Regions from separate parts of the Homo sapiens genome. Here regions 1 and 3 are each linked to region 2. Evidence: promoter capture Hi-C in 16 types of primary human blood cells and fetal thymus (Javierre and others, 2016). All regions are on one chromosome and are shown on one strand. The core of a region is centred on a gene start or on the middle of the fragment in contact, and the rest is flanking DNA. Distances in the headings are between cores, read along the strand shown. Region 1 overlaps POLR2A (RNA polymerase II subunit A). Region 2 holds the start of TMEM256 (transmembrane protein 256). Region 3 overlaps ZBTB4 (zinc finger and BTB domain containing 4).

What was found. The method cuts DNA at HindIII sites, captures the fragments that hold promoters and counts their contacts. A CHiCAGO score of 5 or more calls a contact.
Region 1: a fragment that was not itself captured here is called in contact with the fragment with the promoter of TMEM256 in region 2 in 5 of 17 cell types (endothelial precursors, total CD8 T cells, erythroblasts and 2 more); the score reaches 6.2 in endothelial precursors.
Region 3: a contact is called between a fragment that was not itself captured here and the fragment with the promoter of TMEM256 in region 2, in 1 of 17 cell types (endothelial precursors). The highest score is 6.3, in endothelial precursors.

The regions. Positions count from the first base shown.
Region 1 is chr17:7,493,577-7,496,822 of GRCh38, reverse strand. It overlaps POLR2A (RNA polymerase II subunit A), which reads right to left. Exons shown (of 30, transcript NM_000937.5): 2 at 750-882; 3 at 477-613; 4 at 210-383; 5 at 1-59. Among named protein-coding and RNA genes, the nearest start is that of POLR2A, 11 kb to the right of the region's middle. The HindIII fragment of the contact is 1,762 bases long and covers 819-2,580 here.
Region 2 is chr17:7,402,231-7,405,417 of GRCh38, reverse strand. It overlaps TMEM256 (transmembrane protein 256), which reads left to right and starts at 1,321. Exons shown (of 4, transcript NM_152766.5): 1 at 1,321-1,418; 2 at 1,729-1,760; 3 at 2,028-2,108; 4 at 2,209-2,443. The coding sequence starts at 1,334. The coding sequence ends at 2,352. TMEM256-PLSCR3 (TMEM256-PLSCR3 readthrough (NMD candidate)) reads left to right here and starts at 1,287. Exons shown (of 10, transcript NR_037719.1): 1 at 1,287-1,418; 2 at 1,729-1,760. It also overlaps a transcript of NLGN2 not described here. RefSeq lists a silencer at 513-842 and an enhancer at 1,333-1,512. The HindIII fragment of the contact is 6,317 bases long and covers 1-1,613 here.
Region 3 is chr17:7,475,225-7,478,567 of GRCh38, reverse strand. All of the region lies in intron 1 of ZBTB4 (zinc finger and BTB domain containing 4), which reads left to right. Among named protein-coding and RNA genes, the nearest start is that of ZBTB4, 2.7 kb to the left of the region's middle. The HindIII fragment of the contact is 1,246 bases long and covers 728-1,973 here.

The DNA of each region.
Region 1 (3,246 bases), core at 450-2,949, 91 kb before region 2:
TACAGCTCTAGGCCAGAACGCCGGATCCTGGGCTGGTACCGCCCACAGCCACCATGGCCCTTCCAAGGAGAGACAGGGGCCATCAGAGCCCAGAGGGTGGGCCATTTCCCTCCACACCAGGCCAGCCCCTCCTGTTTCCTTCCCTTCCAGTTTCCTCCCTCCAGGCCTCTGACCCCTCCTTCCCAAAAGTCTCCGCCAGCCCCAGCCACCTTTTCTTTGGTCAGATCCTCGTCACCCTCAGGTTGTTCCACACCGAACTTGTTGTCCATCTCCTCCCCACCCTCGCATATGTTTTTGCCCTTGCAAAGGTCGTAGACATGTGTGAGCCGCTTCTTGGGCTGTCCCTTGGACTTAGCCAGGATATCCTTGATCTTTGGGTTGTTCTGGGGACAGGGCAGAGCAGGGTCAGTTGAAGCTGTCCCCCTGCCCCCTACCAAGCACCCCCGCTCCCAGACCAGAGCCTGTTCCCCACTCACAGAGTCCACAAGCAGTTTGGAGCAGAAGAAGCAGACACAGCGCAAAACTTTCATTGTCTTCACCAGGAAGCCCACGTGAAACACAGGCTTGGCCAGTTCAATGTGGCCAAAGTGGCCAGGACACTCTGTCATGTTTCCTGTGGGACACACACCCAGTGCTTTCCTCCCAGCTCCCACTCATCTCAGAGGCCTCCAGGTGTCAACCGTCAGCCCTAGTTTTGAGGACCCAACCCACCTCCCCTTTGGGATCCCACCTGGCCCCCCAGCACTTACCTGCACATGTTTGGCAGCGGCCAGTCCGCTCAATCACCCCCTGCCTCGGGTCCATCAGCCCCCCAAGCTTGGGGCGGCCTCCCTCAGTCGTCTCTGGGTATTTGATGCCACCCTCCGTCACAGACATTCGCTTCTGCAAAGAAAGAAAGGCCAACAACTGAACAGCGTTCCTAGTTTCTAGCCTTTGTGGCTGGGGAGCTCTGGACTAAGGTCTGGGAAAACCCTGAACTACTTACAGAAGAACTAAGTTTAGCCTGGAGTGAGGGGAATGGGGGATTGGTGTGTGTACACTTCTGAAAAGGCCAAAGTTGAATATCCCAAGTCAGAGGCTTATTCCAGTCACTGAGGCAGGAAAAGCACTCACACTAGATAATGGTCGATCCTGGGTTCCATACAAATCACCTGCTACTGGGACATGAACCCCAGACTTCCATCTGGGTTGAATTCTAGGTCTCTGACATCCATAGGATTTAGCCACAAAAAGAAATCAAAGTTGCTTCAGGAAAAACAAAAAAACAAAACAATGCTTTATTTGTTCCTCCCAAGCAGAAATCAAGCTCATGAATCTGAGATCCTGGCAGAAGCCTCTCTGTACCTGTACCCTCGCCATGACAGCCCAGGTGTTCTGCACCAAGACATGCCCCGCCAACTCAAGCCCCTGATAAGAAACGAGGCACTCAGAGATGCAGCCCTGTTTCTTTTCCCTCATCTTTGTCATGCCCTCCTTCTCAAGGCCTGAACTGCTTGAACCCTTTCGTGTCCAGATGGAGATTTTATTATTGGTTTTGTTTTGTTTTGAGATGGAGTCTCGCTCTGTCGCCAGGCTGGAGTGCAGTGGCGCAATCGCAGCTCACTGCAACCTCTGCCTCCCGGGTTCAAGTGATTCTCCTGCCTCAGCCTCCCAAGTAGCTGGGACTACAGGTGAGCGCCACCACATCGAGCTAATTTTTGTATTTTTAGTAGAGACAGGGTTTCACCAGGTTGGCCAGGATGGTCTCTTGACCTCATGGTCCACCCGCCTCGGCCTCCCAAAGTACTGGGATTACAGGCGTGAGCCACCGCGCCAGGCCAGAGATTTTATTAAAAGACTGGAGAAACAGGTGCTAGAAAAACAGGTTGGTGGAAATGATTTGAAGCAAAAGTGAATAGCTGGAATCCCAAGAAAGGAAGAGCCAGGACTTGATGGGGACATTTCAATGAAGGAAAGGAGGAAACAGAAGAACTCAGAAGTAGATGGGCCGGGTGCGGTGGCTCACACCCGTAATCCCTGCACTTTGGGAGGCTGAGACGGGTGGATCACCTGAGGTCAGGAGTTTGAGACCAGCCTGGCCAACATAGTGAAACCCCATCTCTACTAAAAATACAAAAAAATTAGCTGGGTGTGGTGATGGGTACCTGTAATCCCAGCTACTCGGGAGGCTGAGGCAGGAGAATCACTTGAACCCAGGAGGCGGAGGTTGCAGTGAGCTGAGATCGCACCACTGCACTTCAGCCTGAATGACAGAGCAAGACTCCGTCTCAAAAAAAAAAAAAAATTGTAATGCTATTGTACACTTAGACTTAGTAGACTACAGCATAGTACTAATGTAACATGCACAATGGCAACCAAAAAACTCCATGTGACTTGCTTTATTGCGGTGGGCTGGAACCAAACTCACAGTATCTCCAAGGTATGCTTGGATACTCATTCTCAACTCTCTAATTCCAGGCCTTACTTTTCTTCTGGACTTTGGGTTCACGTATGTGACTACCTACTGAACCCCCTGCAAACATCACACCAAAAAATCAAATTAAACATGTTTAAAAGCAAACTCTCTTTTCCACAAAAGCTTCTCTTTTTCCTTTAGTCTCTATCCCAGATTCAGAAACCTATGCTTACCTTTCCTTACCTTCAAGCACAAAACAGTCCAAAGAACATGGACTTAGCTGTCGGGCACCCTTGCTTTGGAATTCTGCCTATATTACTTATGAACTATGTAACCATTAAGGACTTAATTAGCTTGCTTAAGTCCAGGATGTAATTGGCGCTTTATGAATGGACATTATTATTATTCAGTCATTCACCAGGTACTGGTCACTTTTACCTCCCTTTTTTTTTTAAGAAGTCTTGCTCTGTCACCCAGGCTGGAGTGCAGTGGCGGGAATCTCAGCTGGGTTTACACACATAAGCCACCACGCCTGGCCTCCTAAGTGTTTCTTGAATCTTGCCTCTCTTCTCCATCCCCACCACCATTGCCCTAGTTCAGGCCCTTCCTTTGTAGTCTACAACAGAGCGTTCCTATGGGTCACCAGCCTGTCTCTCTCCAATCCTTCTACATTACAACTGGGGTGCTCATTCTAAAATAAAAATGTGTGCTAAAAATAAATAAAATAAAAATTAATAATAAACTAAAAATGTAATCATTCATACCCTCTTGTCCTCAGACTGACATCCAAACTCAGCAGGACAGCTTCCCAAAAGGATTTTATGATGTTCTCAACCTTCATTTCCCTGATG
Region 2 (3,187 bases), core at 72-2,571:
GGAAAAGGAGAGCTAGGGGATGGGATCAGGGGGAGCCCGAGAACAGGGAACCCCGCAGTAGGGACGATAGAGAAAGGAGGGGGCAACGGGACAGGACTAGATTGAGGATCCGCTGGTTCCGTGGGCCGGCTTCGAGGGACCAGAAGGCGGTCCAGGCGGAGGATCCTAAGGATCGGGTGCTGGAGGAGGAGTCCACGTTAATCCCCAGGGGCCCGGGGCCCGGGAGCGCAGGATCCGCGGTGCAGGGGCAGGGATCCAGCCGGAATCCTCGGGGAGGGGGAGGGATCTAGTCGATCCCGAGGGCGGGCGTGAGGGGGAGGTCCGGGGAGTCAGAGGAGGGCGGGAGCCGAGTCCAGAGCCCCGGGGCGGGGGTCAGCGCGGATCCTAGGAGGGAAGGCGGGGGTGAGGGGAGGCTTCGAGGGACGCTCAGCAGCCGGGAGGCCCGGACTCCTGGCTCCGCGCGCCAGGGCCGGCCCGCCCCGCGTCCATCCCAGCCCGAGAGTGATGATCCGCCGGCGGAGCAGCCGCAGCAGCCCCGCGCGTCACCGCGCGGCCGCCTCCCCCGCCCCCTGCCGAGAGAGCGGCGCACACCCCCCGCTCGCACCCCCCGCTCGCACCCGCCTGCCCGCCCGCCCTCCGGAGAATGGGGGGATTGGAGATGGTGGGAAGAGGCGGGAGCGGACAGACGGACAGATGGACGTAGCGGGCCAGGGCAGGGTGGAGACATTCCCCCGGATCTCCCACCCTCGGGGCTCTCGCGGTCTCGGAGGGCTGGCGGGGGGGAGAATATCTTAACTACAGGGGGCGGGGCATCATACAAAGAAGGCGGAGCCTTCAGACATGGGGGAGGGGCCATTTGTGCAGTGGGCGGGGTTTACTGGCAATAGGTGGGGCTTTGCTATCTTTCGGGCCGCCTCTTTTTGGTAGTGGGTTTGATTTGAAGCTGAACAGGAGGAGCCTGTGGAAAAAGGGGCGGAACTTTGAGAGAAGACCGGGATCTTTGGAAATTGGCCGGAGCATGGGGGTGGGGGGTTCGAAGAGGCGATCAACTTGGAAAGTGGGCCAATCCTTGACGCAAATCCCCCTAGTCCCGCCCTCAACCCCGCCCCCCCACTGCTTAGCTCCTCTGTTCCTAATTGGTGCTGGTTTCTCCGCCCGCCAGACGTCTTCGCCACTCTGCAGCGGTTTTACAAAGGCGGGTGAAGAGCGCAATGCTGAAATGAACACGGCCCGGATTGGGCGCCTGTGAACCTTATTTGCATGGGCGGTCGGGATTGGCTGGCCTCTTGGGTGGCCTGGGCGGCGTTGGTCCGGTGCGTCCTGTTCTACAGCTATGGCCGGGCCAGCTGCAGCTTTCCGCCGCTTGGGCGCCTTGTCCGGAGCTGCGGCCTTAGGCTTCGCTTCCTACGGGGCGCACGGTCAGGGGGCTGGGGACGAAGATGGGACTGTACTTGGGGCGTCCTCTGGGGTCTGCTGCAAGGGCGTAACCTATGGGAGGTGCCCGGCCTCTCGTTTATCAGACAGTCCGCGGAGCCCTAAACCTTTTAAAGTCCCCCAGCTGGGTCCAATTGGTTCCCAGTACTGCCCGAGCGTGTTCCCACCAATCGGAAGCTTCCTGGGGCGGGGGGGGGGGTGCCCTTTCTCGCCAATGTCCACCTGGGTCCCCCCGGATTGGGGGCGGTCAGGGCTGGCACTAGGACCGCTAACCTTTGCTTCTTTTCTCCACAGGCGCCCAATTCCCAGATGCCTACGGGAAGGAGGTGAAGTAACTGCGCTGGGGCTCCCTGACTCGTGGGTCTACGAAGGCACAAAGTCTGGGGTCCCTGGGGGAAGTGGGCGGGGAGAGGGTGGGGCGAGCCGCGGATCTCTGGAGCAGCAAAGGCCAAAGGCTCTGTAAGCCAAAGGCCTGGGATCAAGCTGGGACTTCAAGGGTGGGGTGGGGGAAGGAACTTTGGTCCCTTGTGTCATCAGGGGATCTCAGTACCTGTATTGCCTACGACATCCCTTCGTTTCTGTTTTTCTTACAGCTGTTTGACAAGGCCAACAAACACCACTTCTTACACAGCCTGGCCCTGTTAGGGGTGCCCCATTGCAGAAAGCCACTCTGGGTAATCTTTCCCTGCGCCTAACCCTGACCAAGCCCCACACACTCCCTCTCAGCCTGCCCTGTTCTTAACAATCCTGTTTTCTGTGCTGTGTCTCCTTCAGGCTGGGTTATTGCTAGCTTCCGGAACGACCTTATTCTGCACCAGCTTTTACTACCAGGCTCTGAGTGGAGACCCCAGCATCCAGACTTTGGCCCCTGCGGGAGGGACCCTGCTACTCTTGGGCTGGCTTGCCTTGGCTCTTTGAGCTCCCTTTTGCTTAATTACTGGGTTTTCTGGGCAGTTTTTTTTTTAAAGAGTTGGAGTAAGAAGAGGATTAAAAAGGAAAGGCAAATAAACTTTGGAGTCTTTGTTCATCTAACCTCTTGGAGGACGAAGGGTGGGGATTCAACCTCTGAACTCCCTCCATTTCCTAAGACTTAATCAGTGAGCCTTAGGTCTGGGGATTCTGGTCACTTTAAGTTAACTTATTATAATGTTCTTACCCTGGTGGGCATCAAAGTCATAAAGAATGCTTGAAATAACACAGATTCCTACTGAAGCACTCTTTCGGGCCTGAGAATCTGTATTTTAATAAGCTCATCTTGTGGTTCTGATGCATACTAGGTTTTTAATTTTATTATTATTATTATTATTATTTTGAGATGGAGTCTTGCTCTGTCGCCCAGGCTGGAATACAGTGGCGCGACCTCGGCTCACTGCAACCTCTGCCTCCCAGGTTCAAGCGATTCTCCTGCCTCGGCCTCCTGAATAGCTGGGATTACAGGCGCCTGCCACCATGCCCAACTAATTTTTTGTATTTTTAGTAGACACGGGGTTGTGCCATGTTGGCAAGGCTGGTTTTGAACTCCCGACCTCAGGTGATCCGCCTGCCTTGGCCTCCCAAAGTGCTGTGATTACAGGTATGAGCCACCACGCCCGGCCTGTTTTTATTTTTATTTTTATTTTTTTGAGACAGAGTTTCACTCTGTTGCCCAGGCTGGAGTGCAGTGGTGCGATTTTGGTTCACTGCAACCTCCACCTCCTGAGTTCAAGTGATTCTCCTGCCTCAGCCTCCCAAGTAGCTGAGATTATAGGTGCAT
Region 3 (3,343 bases), core at 101-2,600, 73 kb before region 2:
GATGCAGTGTATGTGCCCTTTTGGAGGGGGCGGTTGTGGGCCTTTGAGTCAGAAGGCGTCACGTCTGGGTCCCATTTCTGTGGCCCTGCTGAGGTGTGGTCCAGTGGTGAAGAGGGCGATGGATGGGTTTGCGTGTCTGTGATGAGCGCGTTGCATGGGGGCTGCGCGTCTAGAACTCAGATCCCAAAGATCATGAGAGGAGCGAGGAACCCCGGGGTATGTCTCAGGGGCCTGTGGGTCAGTTGGCACTGGTGTGAGGGGCTCGAGGTGGAATGCGCCAGTTGTGTTTATGGGATCATGGGCAGCCAAGCGAGGGGAAGGTTGTGTGTTTGCAACATTCTCCACAGGATTCTTTTGTGACGTTGTTTGTAGGAGCCTGTCTGGGCTGCTGAGCTGGGAGGCAAACTGGTCAGAAAACACATGTGGGGAGGGAGGTGGCGTGACAAGGGCAGTGTGGGCCTCAGACCCAAGAGGCCAGCCGCAAGCAGGCTGTGTGTGCGTGCCTGCCGTCTGTGTGCTTAAGTGGCGGTGGGGCTGCGGAGGGGATTTGGTATGAGGAAGGCGGGAGATAAATGCAGGGTAGCGCATGGAGGCCGGCGGGAGGCATGGGTGTTGTCAGATGGCCCAGCTAATCTTTGCAGGGTCTGTATGTTTGCCCCTCATGAGCCTGCCCAGCGTGTCAGGGTCACCCGGAGGAGAGGCTGGGCGGCCACAAGGGAAGTAAGCTTAGACAGAGAGGCTCCTTGGCCATGTTTATGTAAAGGCTGGGTGTGACTCTTGTCACTAAAATGGAAAAAAGAAACGTGAAGTTTTCAGCCTCCTCCTGCTTCACCCTCTCCCTCTCTCTGCCCCCCTTGTGGGTATCTCTGACGCACACTGGGCCCCACTCCTGCGACGGTGGAAGGGCCTCAGAACAGAATTCGCTCACTAGGCAGATTCCTCAGAACAGGTTTTCCTCACCTTTGGGGACTGGGCCCTTCTAGGGGTGTGTGTGCAAGTGCATTCCAAGCCTGCACACCACTGTCTACTGTGCCCGGCCCCACTGGAAGGATGTGTGTACGTGGGGGAAGGGAGGGTGCTGCGGACAGGCCCTCCGGCATGGGGGGCTGGGAAGGGGTGGCTGCCGTGGGAGCCTGCTCAACAGGTGCACAGTGACGGTCTGGTGAAGAGAAAGGAGCCATGGTCCAGGGCTGAGGAGCTCTGGCGTCTTTACCATTCCCTCACTGGCACTTGATCTGAAGGAAGCTCAGTTCCTCATCTGCAGAATGGGGCTGATTGTCTGCCCTGCGTATCTTCCAAAAGCACATGGGAAACGGACCCGGAAAGTGGCTATAGTCTGGGGGCTGTGCCTATGCCAGCCCCTGTCAGCCCTCCCCCAGGACTGGGAATTCCCTTCTTGGGGCTTCGCTGATAATAATGGCAGCACACACTTGCTTAGCACTGACCGTGCACCAGCCTGTCCTCAGGGCACTTATATGTGGCCACTCTGTCCTCAGAACAACACCCTGAAGTAGGCACTCTACCTCCCTTTTTCAAGTGAGGCAGCTGAGGTCCAGAGAAGTTAAGTAATCTGCCCCAAGTCACTTAGCTAGTAAGAGGTGAAGCTGTATTTGAACCCGGGCAATCAGGTTGAAGATCTTGTGCTCTTAACTACTGTACTCTGCTGCCTTCTGGAACATTCAGTGGATGGTCCTTTCTGTGCAACTCCCTCCAACACTCTTCTCCCCAGTTGCTGCAGAACTTAGCATTTGCAGCAGTCCATTTCAGAAGACCCGGATGCTCAGGGATCCCCAGCTGAGGGCATGAGAACCTGAGTCTCTGCTGCTGTGTAAGGTGGATGCTGGCCATAGGAGCACAAAAGGTTGATGAGTCAGAGGAAGGAATGATCGTTCTCATCCTGTGGATCAGGGAGGGCCAAGAAGGAGGTGGCCTTGGAGTCAGATCTTAACGTTTTGGAGGGATTTTGACAAGCTTGGGGAAAGAGCATTTCTGGCAGAACAAGCCAGCACAGGCAAAGGCATGAAGGTGTGGGTCATGTAGAAGCTGGAGAGCACACTGGGTGTCTGGGGTTTTGTTCATTTGTTTAGAAACTGGGTCTCAATATATTGCCCAGGCTGGACTCAAACTCCTGGGCTCAAGCAATCCTCTAGCTGCAGCCTCCTGAGTAGCTGGGACTATGGGTATCTGCCATCACGCCTGGCTCACGCTGAGTACTGTGTGTTTGAAGAGGATAACACAAGGCAAGATTAAAAAGGAAGATTGGAGCTAGACCAGAGCCCTTGACTGCCTGGTAGAAGAATTTGAACTTTCTTCTAGAGTCAGTGGGGACCAGTGGAGGTTTTGAGCCCAGGAGTGATAGTCCTGAACTGTGGTTAGGGACGTTGACCCTCAGGGGGAGGAGGGCTGGATGGAGGAAGGTAAGCCTGGAGGCCAGGGGATAGCTGGGAGGCCATAACCTTGGACCACGTGAGTGTTAACAAGGACCTGAGCTATCGAAGGGAAGATTTCCAGAGCCATTCCCAAGCTCGGCGGCGATTTCAGCCACACTTGATGACTGCTGGATGTGGAAGTGAGGGAAAGGGTGGAGTCAGACATGACACATTTAGCACTTAGCACGTGAGACCTTGTGCGGTGGTTTATGTAACCAGCTGGCGGGCCATAGGCCTCTTCAGGGCCAGGTCTAGCAGTATGGCAGAGGGAAAGATTGAGCATCTGGGGTCAGCTGGGCCTGGATTCGAATCTTGACTGCTGCTTACAAGCTGTGCGACCTCGAGTAAGGTATATCCCTCTCTGAGCCTCGGTTTCCTCTTCTGTAAAATTAGAATAATATGGCCGGGCGCAGTGGCCCATGCCTGTAATCCCAGAACTTTGGGAAGCCAAGGCAGGTGGATCACCTGAGGTCAGGAGTTCAAGACCAGCCTGGCCAACATGGAGAAACCCTGTCTCTACTAAAAATAAAAAAACTAGCTGGGCGTGGAATCCCAGCTACTCTGGAGGCTGAGGCAGGAGAATTGCTTGAACCCAGGAGACGGAGGTTGCAGTGAGCCGAGATCACGCCACTGCGCTCCAGCCTGGGCAACAGGATAATATAAAACCTATTGTGGGTGGCTGTACTGAGAATATCATTAAATGAGGTAATGTGTGTGAGGCCCCAAGAAGAGTATGAGGCAAATTGTGAGGACTCCAGAGTGGTCAACTTATTTATGGTTTCTTTTAATTTTTTTTTGAGACGGAATTTCTCTCTTGTTACCCAGGCTGGAATGCAATGGCATGATCTTGGCTCACTGCAACCTCCGCCTTCCGGGTTCAGGTGATTCTCCTGCCTCAGCCTCCCGGGTAGCTG